Linked DNA regions of Homo sapiens: regions 1 and 2 are each linked to region 3. The links are contacts of gene promoters, found by promoter capture Hi-C in blood cells and fetal thymus (Javierre and others, 2016). All regions are on one chromosome and are shown on one strand. The core of a region is centred on a gene start or on the middle of the fragment in contact, and the rest is flanking DNA. Distances in the headings are between cores, read along the strand shown.

Region 1 (4,412 bases), core at 504-3,003, 450 kb before region 3:
GTGTCTAATTGGAAAGGTGGTCTTCTTTAATTCCTTGAAGCTCTTAATTTCAGTTCCACTGGAAACTCTTCTTCCCACCTTTTATCTAGTTTGTAACATACAATGTCCATTTCTGCTGGGTCACTTTTCCCACTGGAAGATACATCTACAGTCCTTCCTAAGCATTTTTAATGGCTACACCATATCCGTACTTAGGCATTGAGCTGTGTCTTCCATATTGGTCTATGCCAGTATTGTCTGACGTTGATTATATAGTCGTCTAAAAGCTATAACTGTGTTTTCCTTTTCCCTTCTTTACTTTGTCTTCTAACTTTTGTTTACTGCAACCAATATCAGCATAAAAGTAATAGAGAAATAAAAGAAAATGTGTTCCATGTTTCCATGACAGTGCATCCGTTAGTTATTTTTGTTTCCTGTTTGCTTCCAGTTTTTGGTCATTTTGTAAATGGTCAAATAATTGTAATAGGAGGGAAAAGATTATTCTATGTTTTACTTGAAGCATTATCTCACAAGCACTTTTTCATATTGTTATACCACAATTACTTTTATGGCTGTTCATTCCATTGGGTTGATGCATTGTATATATTTTGATATTTTTAAGTACTGGACATTCAATGTTCTAGTATTTTTGTAAGCAATATTATATTGTACATTTTTATTCTTACAGCTTTCTGTTTCCTTTTCAGTTATCTCACTGCGATAGACCAAAATATTTGGAGACTTTCATGGTCGTTAGGCTATATGTTGCTTTTTGTTTTGTTTTATTTGTGACTATTTTTAGCACATTGTCATTTATAAGAAAGTACTTTGTCAATGCATAGGGAGGAGGTGACAATAAGGAAGCAGTCCTTTTCTTTGAAAGTATTGTTAGGATTCTGAGGAAGCTTTTCTAGGAAATGACAGTGAAAGTATAACAGTCGATGAGTCTTTGGGGAGCTTGGGAAATTGTTGAGATGTTAAAGGTCATTCTGAAATTAATTTGCCTAGCCCATTGTAGGCTATACTGAAATTATTATCTCTAGTAAATGACAGCATATTCTCAGCTATATCCAAAGACTGTTGTAGAACCAGCCACGATCTCCTGTATATCATTCCAAACATCACTTGAAAGTTCTTTCTTGTGTCTAATCTGAATCCTATGCTGCTGTGAAAATCATTTTCAGGTATTGCAGTTCAACTTGGAACTAAAAGTAACTATGTTCTTATACACTGAGAACAGAGACACTGTCCATTCTAAAGTGATCATGAGTCGTTTGTTGGTTTTGTTTTGTTTTGTTTTTTCTTTGAGACAGAATCTCACTCTGTCGCCCAGGCTGGAGTGCAGTGGTACAATCTCGGCTCACTGCAACCTCCGCCTCCTGGGTTCAAGTGATTCTGGTGCCTCAGCCTCCCGAGTAGCTGGGATTACAGGCGTGCACCACCACGCCCAGCTAATTTTTTGTATGTTTAGTAGAGACAAGGTTTCACCATGTTTCCCAGGCTGGTCTCGAACTCCTGAGCTCAGGCAATCTGCCTGCCTTGGCCTCCCAAAGTGCTAGGATTACAGGCATGAGCCACAGTGCCCAGCCTGTTGGGTTTTGAGTTGGGCATGGGGAAGAGTGAAAGCCAAGTGTCCCCAGAGGGTTAAGAAACCTGTTGGAAGGTGACCCTGGGTGTAACTCCATGGTGGGCCGCCCGTCTCAACTGCTGTTTGGTTTCAGCTGTCCTAAGGGGAGGACTGACTCTGCAGCCTGACAATACTTTCTGTGATGTGTTACTATTGGCATGCCGTTCCAACTGGACATTGAAAATTTGCAGACAAATGTAGAGATTTGGTAGTGACTAATTTGCATTGCACAAGGTGTTGGTAGTAGTGAACAGCTTGCTATGAAGCCCGTATTCAAAATTTGGAAGGAACAAACACTATGGATATGCTCATCTCACCAAACTACCCAACCTATTTTTCTTTCACTCCTTTTCTTTGTCTCCTTATTATTCTGCTGATCATTTTCTCTTTGCAGTGTTTCAAATGCTGTTTCTCTTTTCTTTTCCCGCCTTCCTTTTTTCCCTTCCACTCCTTTTTTCTATATCACCTTTCTCTCTGCCCCCTCCACTTTATCTCGGGTCCCACTTCGCCATTGATTTTTTACCATTCTTAACCCCTTTCCTCTTTTATTGAGAAAATAGGCTTTAAATTTGGAGTGTGCTAAGAAAATGTCGCTTTATGCTGAAAAACTGCAGGATTCAGGGACTGCATTTGTGGTGTGGCTTATTGATAGAAGAGAGGCTATGAAAGCTAGTGCTTACAAGTGATTTAAAGGTGACGGCTCAGTGTCTCAGGTGGACGTGATTATATTGTGGGACAGCTGGGTTCCATTTTAGCTTGATATTGACCTCTCCTTGCCATGTAATTAACAGTGTGCCAGCCACAGATCATAAAGTGAGTGCCGTTCAATGAATAACATCATGTACTGGTGCCTGGAGTTTGTTGTACCCATGGGACCTAGTGGGCATGGGGCATGCCTGGATATCTAGCCAGGAGTGACACTTAAGCTCAATTGCTGGATGCTGGATTACAAGAGCTCTGACATGCATCCTCAGATAGCCCGCTCGATACAGATGGCTGATGAGTTCTGAAGCTTCATGCTGATGTGTCCAGGAGCCCAGGGGCAAACTGACCCTTTCCTCTTTAGGCACAATGCCTGCGTCGGCTGTTTAGAAATCATCAGAAAACATTTTAATCTTAGGGGGCTCGATTTTTGGTGATTAAACTAGACCCCTAAATAGAGTTCTCTAAACCCCAAACACAATGAACAGAGATTCATAGTGAAGTAGGTTTGCCTCCGTGAATGAGTGTTGCAGTGAATCTCGTCCTTTTCTTGGCTTTGGTGTTGTGTAGTGATTAACAAAAACGTGAGATGACCGCTGGGCATCTTTATAGGAAAAAGGAAGTGGGAGGGTATTAAGCATAGAATGGATGCTCTCATTTGCTTGAGATGTGTAAAATAAGTTGGGGTAGAATGGGGAAGGGCAGAAGACTAAAGATTTAAGCCCCCCAGTCATGGTTTCATTTAATACGTTAAGGAATTTGATGAGGTAATTGGGCAGATTCAAGGCAAAGAGAGAGCAGGGCTGAGTATCAGTGATCTTCAGATAATCACTAAGGTATTATTCAGGACACAAGCCAGATGACGTTAGCTTCACCAGAAGATGGGCTGATGTGGCCATGGATTCAGTTAGTAATTCTTGGAATTGCTGGGGCTTGGGGCAGCCACCACCATGTGGTTTATCTTTGTCTAACCTCACTAAAGCCAGCCGAGCAGACACTGTCTGTTTGGGGCTTTCAGGTTTGGGGTGGTGGTTCTCAGTAGAGGCTGAAGAGGAAAGAGAGACCTTTTAAAAAGAAAATATTTCTTTTCTCTTCTCTATATAAGTTTTGAGCTTAACAGGCTTTGATCAAGAAGAATTTCACCTTGGGTTTCTGTTTTGAGTTACATCTCCTCAAGACGCTGCCATGGGGCTGGAGGAGAAGGTCAGAGAGAGGGAAAACTTGGACTGTGCTGAAACCCCTTTAGGCTCACTTATTTAGTTATTCACTCAGAAACAGCAGCATGGACTAGGAGCTATCTGTGCTTTTGCAATGTAGCTTCACTACTTAATTTGAAATAAATTCCCTTATAATAGGTCCAATGTATAATCCGAGGCAGATTTGAAATAACATTCAAAGAGTTTTTGGCCATCTACTCCATTGCTTCCTTCCATCAGTGGGGATCTCTGTGACGTGGCTTGTACTCCCTCAATGGTCCTTTTTCTTGGAACCTCACATGGTCACTTTGGGCCAGAAGATGGTATAGCATGAATAAGAAGAGGTGGCCTGCAGTCCTAGGTGCTGGTCCATACTGGCCAGGACAGAGAATACAGGATATCACATAGTCTCTAAATACAATTTCAAAGAGTGCATCTCTAGAGTTAAGTGAGTTTGCCTTAAATTCTGTGCAGTTGCAGATGATGTAATCCATTTATAAACATTTTATTAGGCAGATTAAATTAAGATACAGGAAATGCTATTTCACATTTCGTTGAAGAGGAAAGTCAAGTCTTGTGAACGTTGTTTACTATAACAGAAGGTTCTTACATATCCATCTCAACTCAATTTTCTTATTGTTTCAGGATCCGAGTTCCCTGCTGACTTCTACTCCTTGCACAGTAAAAAGTCAATCTGCTAGGAGCTTGCTGAGATGAGTAAGAGCCGTCTGCTAGTTAAGGGAAATTTGGACTCAATGAAAATAGTCAATGGAAACCTCTGTTTGCTGTATCAAGCATGCAGTACTTATACCCGTACATGGAACAAATTTTTTTTTAGCTTCAATGTTGTAAGGAAGATAGCAATTTTCCTTCTCAGCGTAACATATAAATGTACTACTTGGAAATCG
Region 2 (4,892 bases), core at 2,098-4,597, 470 kb before region 3:
TCCGGCATGGGGAGGGAGCAAGGAGGAGTACTTATTGCTGGGAGTAATCTAATTTCAGAAGCACCCATGACCTGTGGACTCCTTCTGAAAAGGGGATGCATGAATAATTGTACTTTTAAAACTTTGTTTTGTTTTGAGACAGGGTCTTGTTCTTTTGCCCAGGCTGGAGTGCAGTGGCATCATCATGGCTCACTGCAACCTCCACCTCCCACCTCAGCCTCCCAAAATGCTGGGATTACAGATGTGGGCCACCATGTTCAGCCCGTTTTCATATTTTTAGAGGAACTATTTTAAGGGAAAAATTTTAAAAACAAATGACCTATGATTCATTACCATGATAATACTTGACCTTCGTTCTTCTTACTTTTTACGGTAATTAACTTTAACTCCAGACACAATTTCTCAGGAATGGTTATTGAACACCAGGTGAAGAGACAGGTTTCTTCCAGTCCTGTTTTTCCAAACTCCTTTCCTATTTAGCACGCATTGTGGTGCCTTAGGAGGGACATTTGTGGGCAGTTAGGGTTGAATCTGTTCTCTGGTCCACTAGGGGGCGCGCCTATCAAAGGCATGTGTGTGAGAAACTCTGCAGGCTGATGGCACTTCAATAAAGAGCAGCTCTGATGTGTTCATGAAGTGGAGGACTTAGTGGGGACTCTTCTAAGTGGGTAAGTTTAGCAGGTTCAGAAAAATGCTTTTCCAGCCAGAATCTTCCTCCTTCCCCCTTTTAGCTCAAAATCTCCAATAACTCTGTCCCCTGGCTGTGGCGGAAGGAGAGGCAACATATTAAACAGTGTCAATCCTTCGTCCCTGAGTGTATTGTGCAAACTTCCTTGGCATCCTTTCTTTGCACATGGCGCTTTGGAGCAAAAGGGCACCATCCAGCAGGTGCAAGGGTGACACATAGGGAACCAAGGGCAAAGAAACGTCAGGGTCTCGTAATGTATAAGCAAGTCAATTGTGTTTGAGGCTAATAAAACATAGCTTTTACGAGTGCAGCCTTTGGTGCCAGACTGCCTGGTTTTGCATCCCAGCTTCATTGCTCATTAGCTGTGTGATCTTGAACAATTTACCTAAGTGTTTCTTGCCTCATTAGTGAGTTGGATATAGTCGTATCTCCCACCCAGGCTTGTTATGGACATTAATGAGTTAATTGATGTTAAGTTCTGAGAAGCCTTGGCATGGAGCCAGTTTTAGTAAGTTTTTACAATTGATGATTGTCATTTGGATCTGATGGTGGAAATGAGTCTGCAGAATGCATTTACAGTAACCCAGATGACTGGGGACATTCTTCATTTGACTATAACCAGCTGGGTCTGAGAGTAGAAATACATGGCTTCAAAAACAGTTAATTGTCAGGAGTGGCATATCCCAAAGTCCATGAATTCTAGAGAATTTCGTAAGAGTGCTTAGCAGTGCAGGACTTTTATACCCCTCAAAGAGCCTCTTTAGTGAAGGAAGCGGTGGATTTTTTGCTCTGTATTTTTGCTACTCAGGAATTAGCATGTAGGCACATGGCCGAGGATGTCCTTATGCTGCCTGCTCTTGTGCAGATTTTCAAAAGCAGATAAGACTCAAAACCACAACATATATTAAATCAATATTACTGTCCATGACAGGAAGCATTTTTCAATTGGATGACTCCATCCACGATACCCTTTGGAGAGTGCCTTGGACCTAGGCTGGACAGTGCTAGGACAGAGGACCACCAGAGTCTGGCAGGGCTGAGTGGTGATGGGGTCCTGGTACCTGGGAAAGGTAGTTATAGGCATCCAGCACCTCTTCCTCTGATGATTTTCTGTAGGTGCTTGTACTCGTGATTTTGCCTCTAGTAGGATCATATCAAAGCACCCCTGAGAATCATGCTGGTTATTCTGGGGTGCAGGCAAGAGAGGGAAGGAATGACCAGTTAAGAGTCCTGTGATCCAGTTACCTGCTTCCCATTGACCTGCTTTTGATGGCCATCAATCAGCTCCACGCAAAGCTAGCATGCCTTCTATCTTTATCCTTTCTCCTGAGACAGTGTGCTGTTGTGGTACTTTTTATTTTGTTTTCCATTTTTTCAAGTGGTGACTATTTGTCACAGTGCCCTTCCTACCTCTGAATTCAGTGTGATGTGACCTCGGGAGAGGAGGTGTGAGCACGACGTCCAGACTCGGACATGTCTGTTTCACGTCTGCCGGGAAGTAATTTTTATGCTGGGAGCTGGCTTCATGGCGTGGGATTCTAATTCTGGGGATGGCATTTTGTATGTGTAGGAAGACTGTCAAAACCTTTCCAATGGGAAGGGACAAGAACCAATTTGAGAATCACATGGTTACATAAGAACTGGCCCTGTGCGGGCATCTCTGCATACTTCCTGCACTTGTTCATTCTGAAGACGAGAGAAAGAGGAGCAGGAAGAATCTTCCATGAACTCTGCAAACCTACAAACTTTCCAATGAGAAGTGGTGCACACTCCCGAGATGGTGCTTGGGACAACATGGTTAAAAGGGTAAGGGGTATTTATTAACCCTTTGCTTTCTTGTTATTCCTGTCCCTCCTCTTTAAATGTTTACATTACCAAACTGGCTAGACTGCTGAGAATCTATCATTTTTAGGTTGCCTGCTAGGGTTTCTACTGGTCTTATCCCAGTAAATAGCTGCAGAAAATAGCTGCAGTGGCCACACCCAGCAGCAGTAGTGTCTAGGGGACTCTTTGGGACCTGAGCCAGAAAGTTCCCATATGCAGTATCTCATTCTGTCTCCACAAGACACAAGACACAAGGATTATTATGTCTATTTTAGAGACGAATAAAAAGAGGCTTACAGCTTCAGAAGATTTGAAACCTGCCCACAATAGCTGCAGTGTTTCAGCAGCACAAGGAGACATATGCAGACTTAATTTTTGTTTTCAAGTTGTTTAGTCGCAGGTTCAGACACTCATGGGAGCAAGGCAGTGAAATAGATGAAAGTAGCAGATCTTAGTGAAGCTTTATTTCTAGCCTCCCATGCCAAGGACACCCCCCACTCCCTTGGAGTCCTTGAGAAAGCCACCAAATGCTTGTCTCACTGTGGCCTTTCCACACTCAGGATGGTATTCCCACTAATGAAGACCACACACCAACTATCCACTTGCTGCTTCTTAAGGGAACATGCACAGAGCATCGTCCTTCCTGAATCTCAAGCTAAACCCAGCAGGAGCAAGGCCACGTTTCTATCTGGGGGTAGAAAGCAAAATTGTGCTTCCAGTTTTCCAGGGATGCTATAAATCCTTCGCAAATGCTCACAGCAAGCAAGTGGCAGGGCCAGTGTTTGGCCCCTTTCACCCTGACGCCAGTCCTCCCCCACCTCAGCCTCGAGGCTGTGCTGTCTTGCTATTTAAGGAAAAGGGAACATGCTGTCTACAAGGTCTCAGTCGCTCTTTACATTCAATTCAGGTAAATCCAAGAGGCCTTGTCTCCATTCTCAGCTTATTGAGCCTCTGCCTGCCTTCTTGATGTTGTTCATTTGTTGATGACCTTGCTTCATAACCAGGGCAAAGCAGTGAGGGAAAGCAAGTATTTTCATGACAGGTCCTGAGTGCTCATCTTCCTGCTTCATGATAACCCAGAAATCGGCCTTCACTTTTTGCCTTCTATTGTTCATAGATGGAGCCTGAAGTTAGCAGATTTGAATTTGGTTCTCTCCATCCCCCCAGCCCTTTAATATATTTATCTGTGATGTCATATACTAAAGCTTTTCCTTGTTTCTTGAAGGGTTCTCCCTCATTCCCACTGCAGCCTTCCCTGTGACTTATGAGCATTAGGGCAAAGGGAAAGGGCTGGAAAATGGAGACCAGGAAGAGGGAGGCCTCTGCAGTACAGCTTTTAAAGTTCAGGGGCATCTACTGGAGGTGGTCCGTCTGGGACCAGGTCTGTTAGGAGAAGAGCCACGCCAGCTTTTTCGGAGAGGAAAGCTCTGGGAGGAGGTACAGTTCTTCCTCACTTTGGGAAAGCATCACAGATTCCTGCAACTGCTGCTCAGTGCAGGGAGCCCCGCCTCCAGCCAGCTGGGCATGGCTGGGCATCCAAACAGGCATCCAAGGTGTGAGACAGGGGCCTGTGGATTTCTTCCATCTATCTGAGTGGCTCACTGTAGAATGGCGTCCCATCGGTCACCTGTAGAGCACTTTGATAGTAACGGATCATGCCAGGCAATAGGGTCATGTTGGAGTTTAATCTAGACTAAAAATAAGAGACTAATGTGTTGATTCATTTGTTCGTGCAACCAACATTTATGAGCATTTATGATATTTAAGGCAGTGTGCGGACAGGCCTCTCTCTAGTCACAAAGATGAATCGGAGAAGCCAAGGCCTTCATGGAATTGATTGTTGAGTGAACTCCTTATCACTCTGGACCTCATGTGTGCTGTTCTCTCTCCTGGCACTCTCATCCCCTGTCCTCTACAATTCTCAGTTCAGAACTGAGTGTGTTGTATTCTTAGACTAGACACAGGGAGCCTGCTGGGAGCTCTCCCAGTCCAGGTCCTACCCCCGTTTCAGCACGTAGTTTGTACTTGCTTATTAGCCTGATGTCCCACCAGAGGGATAGGTCCTTGTCTACTTAGCACACCTTTGCATCTCTTGCACCCAGCACAGTTCCTGCCACTGGATAGGCATATGGTAAGTGTGTGTTGAATGAATGAATGAATAGATCAATTAAGGATTCTACCGTTCAAGAAAGGAGACACCTTTACTTATAGGTAGAAGTTGATATATGCTATGAGAATCATACAAATAGACTATAAAGTGTTTCTGAAATTCCAAAAATGGATAAGGAGAATTTATTTGAGGACTCCATGAGATTTTACAGTGGAGAGGACGCTGAAGATGAACCTTAAAGAATAGGGAGCATTTGGACATGAGTGAGCT
Region 3 (4,725 bases), core at 2,226-4,725:
ATTTGATCATTACACATTGCATGCACGTATTGAAATGTCACATGTACACCAGAAATATGTACAGTTATTATGTAGCAATTTTTAAAATCTTGATTTAAAAAACTTCCCCCAAAATTTCAATGCTACTTGAGAAGAATAATGTGAATTCATTGTCAGCTTCACATTCATCTAACAGTTAATATTATGTTTTTAAATTCATGTTGTCTCTCTAATTCTCACAATTTTCTTAAATATTGACATTATATGCCCTATTCTATAGTAAAATAAACTGGTATTCTGAAAGGTGGAGCAGCTTACCCAGGGCACACAGCTACTAGGAGGGGAGCCCATGACACAGGCCCCCCATCCTAGCCCAGAGCTCTTTTAATGAGCCCCCATGCATCCTCAGCATGGGTTAATTTACCCTGTCCTTAGCAGACAGCAGAACAGAATAGAATGAGGCTAGCGTTAATAAGCTCTGACTGAGGAGGAGGGGAGCAGCAGAGGGCCTGGTTTTGGTAGATGGGAACTGAGGACTGCTGTACACAGTCCTGGGCAGCCAGGAGTAACAGGGCAGCATGGACCTGGGCCTTAGAGAGAGGAGAAAGTCTAAGACGAGACACGTGTTGGTGACAGTGCCAGCTTTTACAGGATCTCCCATCACCCACCTCTTTTTTTTTTTTTTTTTTTTCTGATTAAGGAACTTGCTGTGGATGAGGTGGTTGAGGCCAATGTGGTCAAAAAATATTCAGGAAGCATATTCATACTGAACAAGCAGACCACAGGTGCAACACTTGGGGATCACAAAGCCTTAGCCTTCCATGGCACAGGGGAAAGCAGTGGTTTGAATCAGAGCTGTTTGAGTGAAATCAGTAACAAAGTGCTTCAGGGAAGAAATCTCATTTTCAAGAGCAGATTTCGAGATGATTCAAAATTGGAACATCTGACAGTGGGGTCCTGCAGGAACATTCTCCAGGGCCTGACTAGTTGTTCTAAACCACAGGTAGGTCCAGGGCCTTTTGGCAAGCTGTGCAAAGATCCCAAGTCATTTGCACTCAGTACTTGATGAGCAAAGGCAGCCCTGTCAGGGGCAATGATACCAGCCAGTGTGAAGGACAACTGTGCAAATGGGAGGGTCCACTCCATCCTGGTGACGGAGAGGGATGTTTTGTTCAGTGGTCTGTGCACACGTGCACTTTGTTCCAGCTTCTGCTGGCGAAATCACTTTCTGATTTCTGCATTCTTCCTTTGATCATGCCCAGTAAGAACTCACCCTCCAAGCATGAAAAATCCTTCCATTACTGAAAACCTATGTGTCAGGTTTTACCATGATATATTCCTACGAAGTAGATAGTCTCACCTCCCTTTTCTAGCTGAGGACTGTCACCTCTGGAAACAGGAAGGGGCTTGCTCAATACTGCACAGCTAAGTCAGCGACTCCCACTGTGACCAGCCCCGAAGCCTGAGCACACTAGAGAGTTTCAGAGCCGACCATCCCTGGGATGGTTGTGAATGGCACTGCCTGGCCCACATACATGCGATGAAGGGCACAAAACTTGCATTTCCGGCATACCAAGAAATCCCTCTCACTCTAAGAGTTTCCAGACCTGCTCGCAGCTATACATTGAGACCAGGAGAGCCTCAAGAGGCCCAAAGCCTGTGTCAAATGCTCTTCCAGAAGCCCTCAGGAGAGTCCTCACCCATTTATGGATTAGACAAACTAGACCACACACTCCTGGAGTGCTGTAGCACAGCTGGAAGGTATTCAATAAATCCTCCCTTTTCCTGTCCTCACCATTTCCCATGTATGACATGATGGCCTACAACTACCATGGGCGTCTTGGAATTCTCTTGAAGCTGGTCTGGGGTGCAGGTTTCATCACACTCCTGCTAGAGTCATAGACAGATGCACTAAGCACTTACTTCTTGCCAGCCATGCTGCTTTGTTGTTTGGATACATCATGTATTCGAGTGCTTCCAGCAGCGCATTGGAGCGGATATTACCATTATCCCAATAGAAATGAGCTACTTGGGAGGCTGAGGTGGGAAGATCACTTGAACCCAGGAGGTCAACACTGCAGTGAGCTGTGATCACACCACTGCACTCCAGCCTGGATGAAAAAGCAAGGCCCTGTCTCAAAAAACAAACAAACAACAACAACAACAACAAAAACAAGACACTGAAGGGGGGAAAGTTACATCACTGGTCTAATATATTACTCAGAATAAACAGTAGACATGAGACGTAAGCATGAGCCTTTCTGTCTTCACAATCTGAGTTCCTAATCAATCAGTCCTTTATTTAGCCTCCCTTGGAAGTCTCTGGAACTTCTCTAGGCCTCACCCCTGTGGTGGTCCTAGTGACCCCAGAGCTCCCCTTAGTCACAGAGTGAAGAACTGAAGCAGCAGCACCTTAGAGTCAGAGGAAGTCACAGGCCCATGGACGCCTAACGATATCCTCAGTATTGGGCTGGAAGTGTAATTAGGGAAACACTCTGACTTGTGCTATCTCTGCAGCAGGTTTGGGAATTGTAGCCCCATCGGTGCTTGTAAGACTAATGACTGCACAAGAAATCTTCCAACCATAAAAACTGGTATTTCCTACATCCTGGAAAGGATGCTACTCTAAAACTTTGCCTGCTACTCCAAATGCTATTTTTTTTAATTGCTAACAATTTAGATAGCTTCTATAATATTTCAAAATTTGTAATAAGCTCCCTCAGAGCCTAAGCAGAGAGAAACAGAATCTCATGACCTCCTACACTTACCTAGACTGTGGTACTTTGGCCCTGTCCTCTTATCTTGACTGAGAATGGCATATGATTTTGTTTTATCTTATTTTAGAGAGAAACATTTAGATTATATGTCTTTTATCTATGATCTGGTTCCGATTTTTTTTTTCCCTCAGAAAGACAGTGTTCAGTTCTATTCTTCAGAGCAGAAAATCAGTCTCTTAACAAATCATCCACAAAATGCACTTCGAAATTCTGGAGAAAAAAAAGATGCATTGTGCACAGCCTAGCAACTGTGAATTGATTAATTCTAACCCATGTTTTTTCTCATTAGGTCTAAAATCCCACCATGCTAACTGCCCATTATTTTCTGTACTGTTTATTTTCTGCACACCAAATAAAAGGCCTTGACCCTTCAAGGAATAACCCAATTTCTCCAGAGGAAAGATATTATTTGACCAGAATATCCTTTTACAACAAAATAAGGATCACAACCTTACCATATAAAGCTGTTGAAAACAAGACTAAGTAAGTTCTGAATGTAACCAATTAGAATTTCTACAATATGTGGGTGCTGCTGATCAAATTGTTAAAGGGTTGTGTGCTTGTGGATTAGTTTTTTTTTTCTTTTTTCTTCTCAGTTTTGGCTTTAGTATCGTTTTGTTTTGTTTTGCAAGAATGAAAGGGGAAGGGCCTCCTAACCAACCCAACAGATCAGTTCCGGCAAGCCTCGAGGCTCACGGGGTTTATGCACACTAACTTCACTGAGCCAGGGAGCACGGAAGTTGTGCCACTGTGCAACTTGGGTTTTCTTTATCCTGCAGTCTTTACCTCAGCAGAACCGCACACCACAGACTCCCTCCAGCTCTTTGTGTGTGGCTCTCTCAGGGTCCAACAAGAGCAAGCTGTGGGTCTGTGAGTGTTTATGTGTGCTTTTATTCACTTCACACTTATTGAAAAGTGTGTATGTGAGAGGGTGGGGTGTGTGTGTCAAAGAGAGTGAGGAAGAGAAGGAGAGAGAGATCAATTGATTCTGCAGCCTCAGCTCCAGCATCCCTCAGTTGGGAGCTTCCAAAGCCGGGTGATCACTTGGGGTGCATAGCTCGGAGATGCAGTCCCCCTGGAAAATCCTTACGGTGGCGCCTCTATTCTTGCTCCTGTCTCTTCAGTCCTCGGCCTCTCCAGCCAACGATGACCAGTCCAGGCCCAGCCTCTCGAATGGGCACACCTGTGTAGGTATGCAAATAAATATTTTTGTATTTTCTATGTAGACATAACAATGGGATCCAGTACTTTGCTTGCGTAATAAATCACATATTTTATTAAATCAAGAATTGTAAGATTCCAGGTAAGGCACCAGTAACCTCACTGACACAGAGAAATGTGGAGTCTAAGAGTAGACATTGACACTACATACATCTATGTGAATAAAAAGCATACTAGTTTAAATTGGGCATAAAACTCTTCCACCTCATTGGCGATTGGAATTTTTTCTTCTTGTATAGGTAACTATTATTTCAGGCTATTTTAGTCTGAAATTTTTACTGCTTTTCATGGGCTTTGACCTCATATAAACACATCTGAGTTTGAATCACTGCCCTCCTCCTACCCTTCTCTCCCATTTCCTACTGGCTGTGGAAACCTGGAGCAATGTACTTAACCCTCTCCATGCTTCTGTGTCCTTATTGGTGAACTGAAGTGAGTGAGACCCATCTCATAGGGATACCATGGAAATTGTGACCATGCATGTAAATCTGTGGCATGTGCACACAGTAAGGACTCAACCATCTTAGCTTCCTTCCGTCTCTCAGAGAATCCAGATTTGGCGATCACCTGGAGACGCTGAGCGTTGATATGGCTTCTTGGCTCATCTGTTAATGAAGTGTTTTATTTCCAAGAGGTTTTTTTTGTTTGTTTTTTTTGGATGAGAGCAGGAAGTAAGGTAAGATCTTTGATATTCACATTGTAGCTCTCATAACATGGGAATTCTCATAATAGTGGTGGCATTTAGATG

What was found. Contacts are between HindIII fragments. The CHiCAGO score rates a contact against its expected background, and 5 or more counts as called.
Region 1: a fragment that was not itself captured here is called in contact with the fragment with the promoter of AOAH in region 3 in 3 of 17 cell types (naive CD8 T cells, total CD8 T cells and naive CD4 T cells); the score reaches 7.4 in naive CD8 T cells.
Region 2: a fragment that was not itself captured here is called in contact with the fragment with the promoter of AOAH in region 3 in 6 of 17 cell types (M1 macrophages, non-activated CD4 T cells, naive CD8 T cells and 3 more); the score reaches 6.9 in M1 macrophages.

What each region holds. Positions count from the first base shown.
Region 1 is chr7:37,172,720-37,177,131 of GRCh38, reverse strand. All of the region lies in intron 13 of ELMO1 (engulfment and cell motility 1), which reads left to right. Among named protein-coding and RNA genes, the nearest start is that of ELMO1-AS1, 180 kb to the right of the region's middle. The HindIII fragment of the contact is 1,734 bases long and covers 887-2,620 here.
Region 2 is chr7:37,194,703-37,199,594 of GRCh38, reverse strand. The region is part of intron 13 of ELMO1 (engulfment and cell motility 1); the gene reads left to right. Among named protein-coding and RNA genes, the nearest start is that of ELMO1-AS1, 200 kb to the right of the region's middle. RefSeq lists an enhancer at 517-576. The HindIII fragment of the contact is 745 bases long and covers 2,975-3,719 here.
Region 3 is chr7:36,723,244-36,727,968 of GRCh38, reverse strand. It overlaps AOAH (acyloxyacyl hydrolase), which reads left to right and starts at 3,475. Exons shown (of 21, transcript NM_001637.4): 1 at 3,475-3,947. The coding sequence starts at 3,821. The HindIII fragment of the contact is 12,094 bases long and covers 1-4,725 here.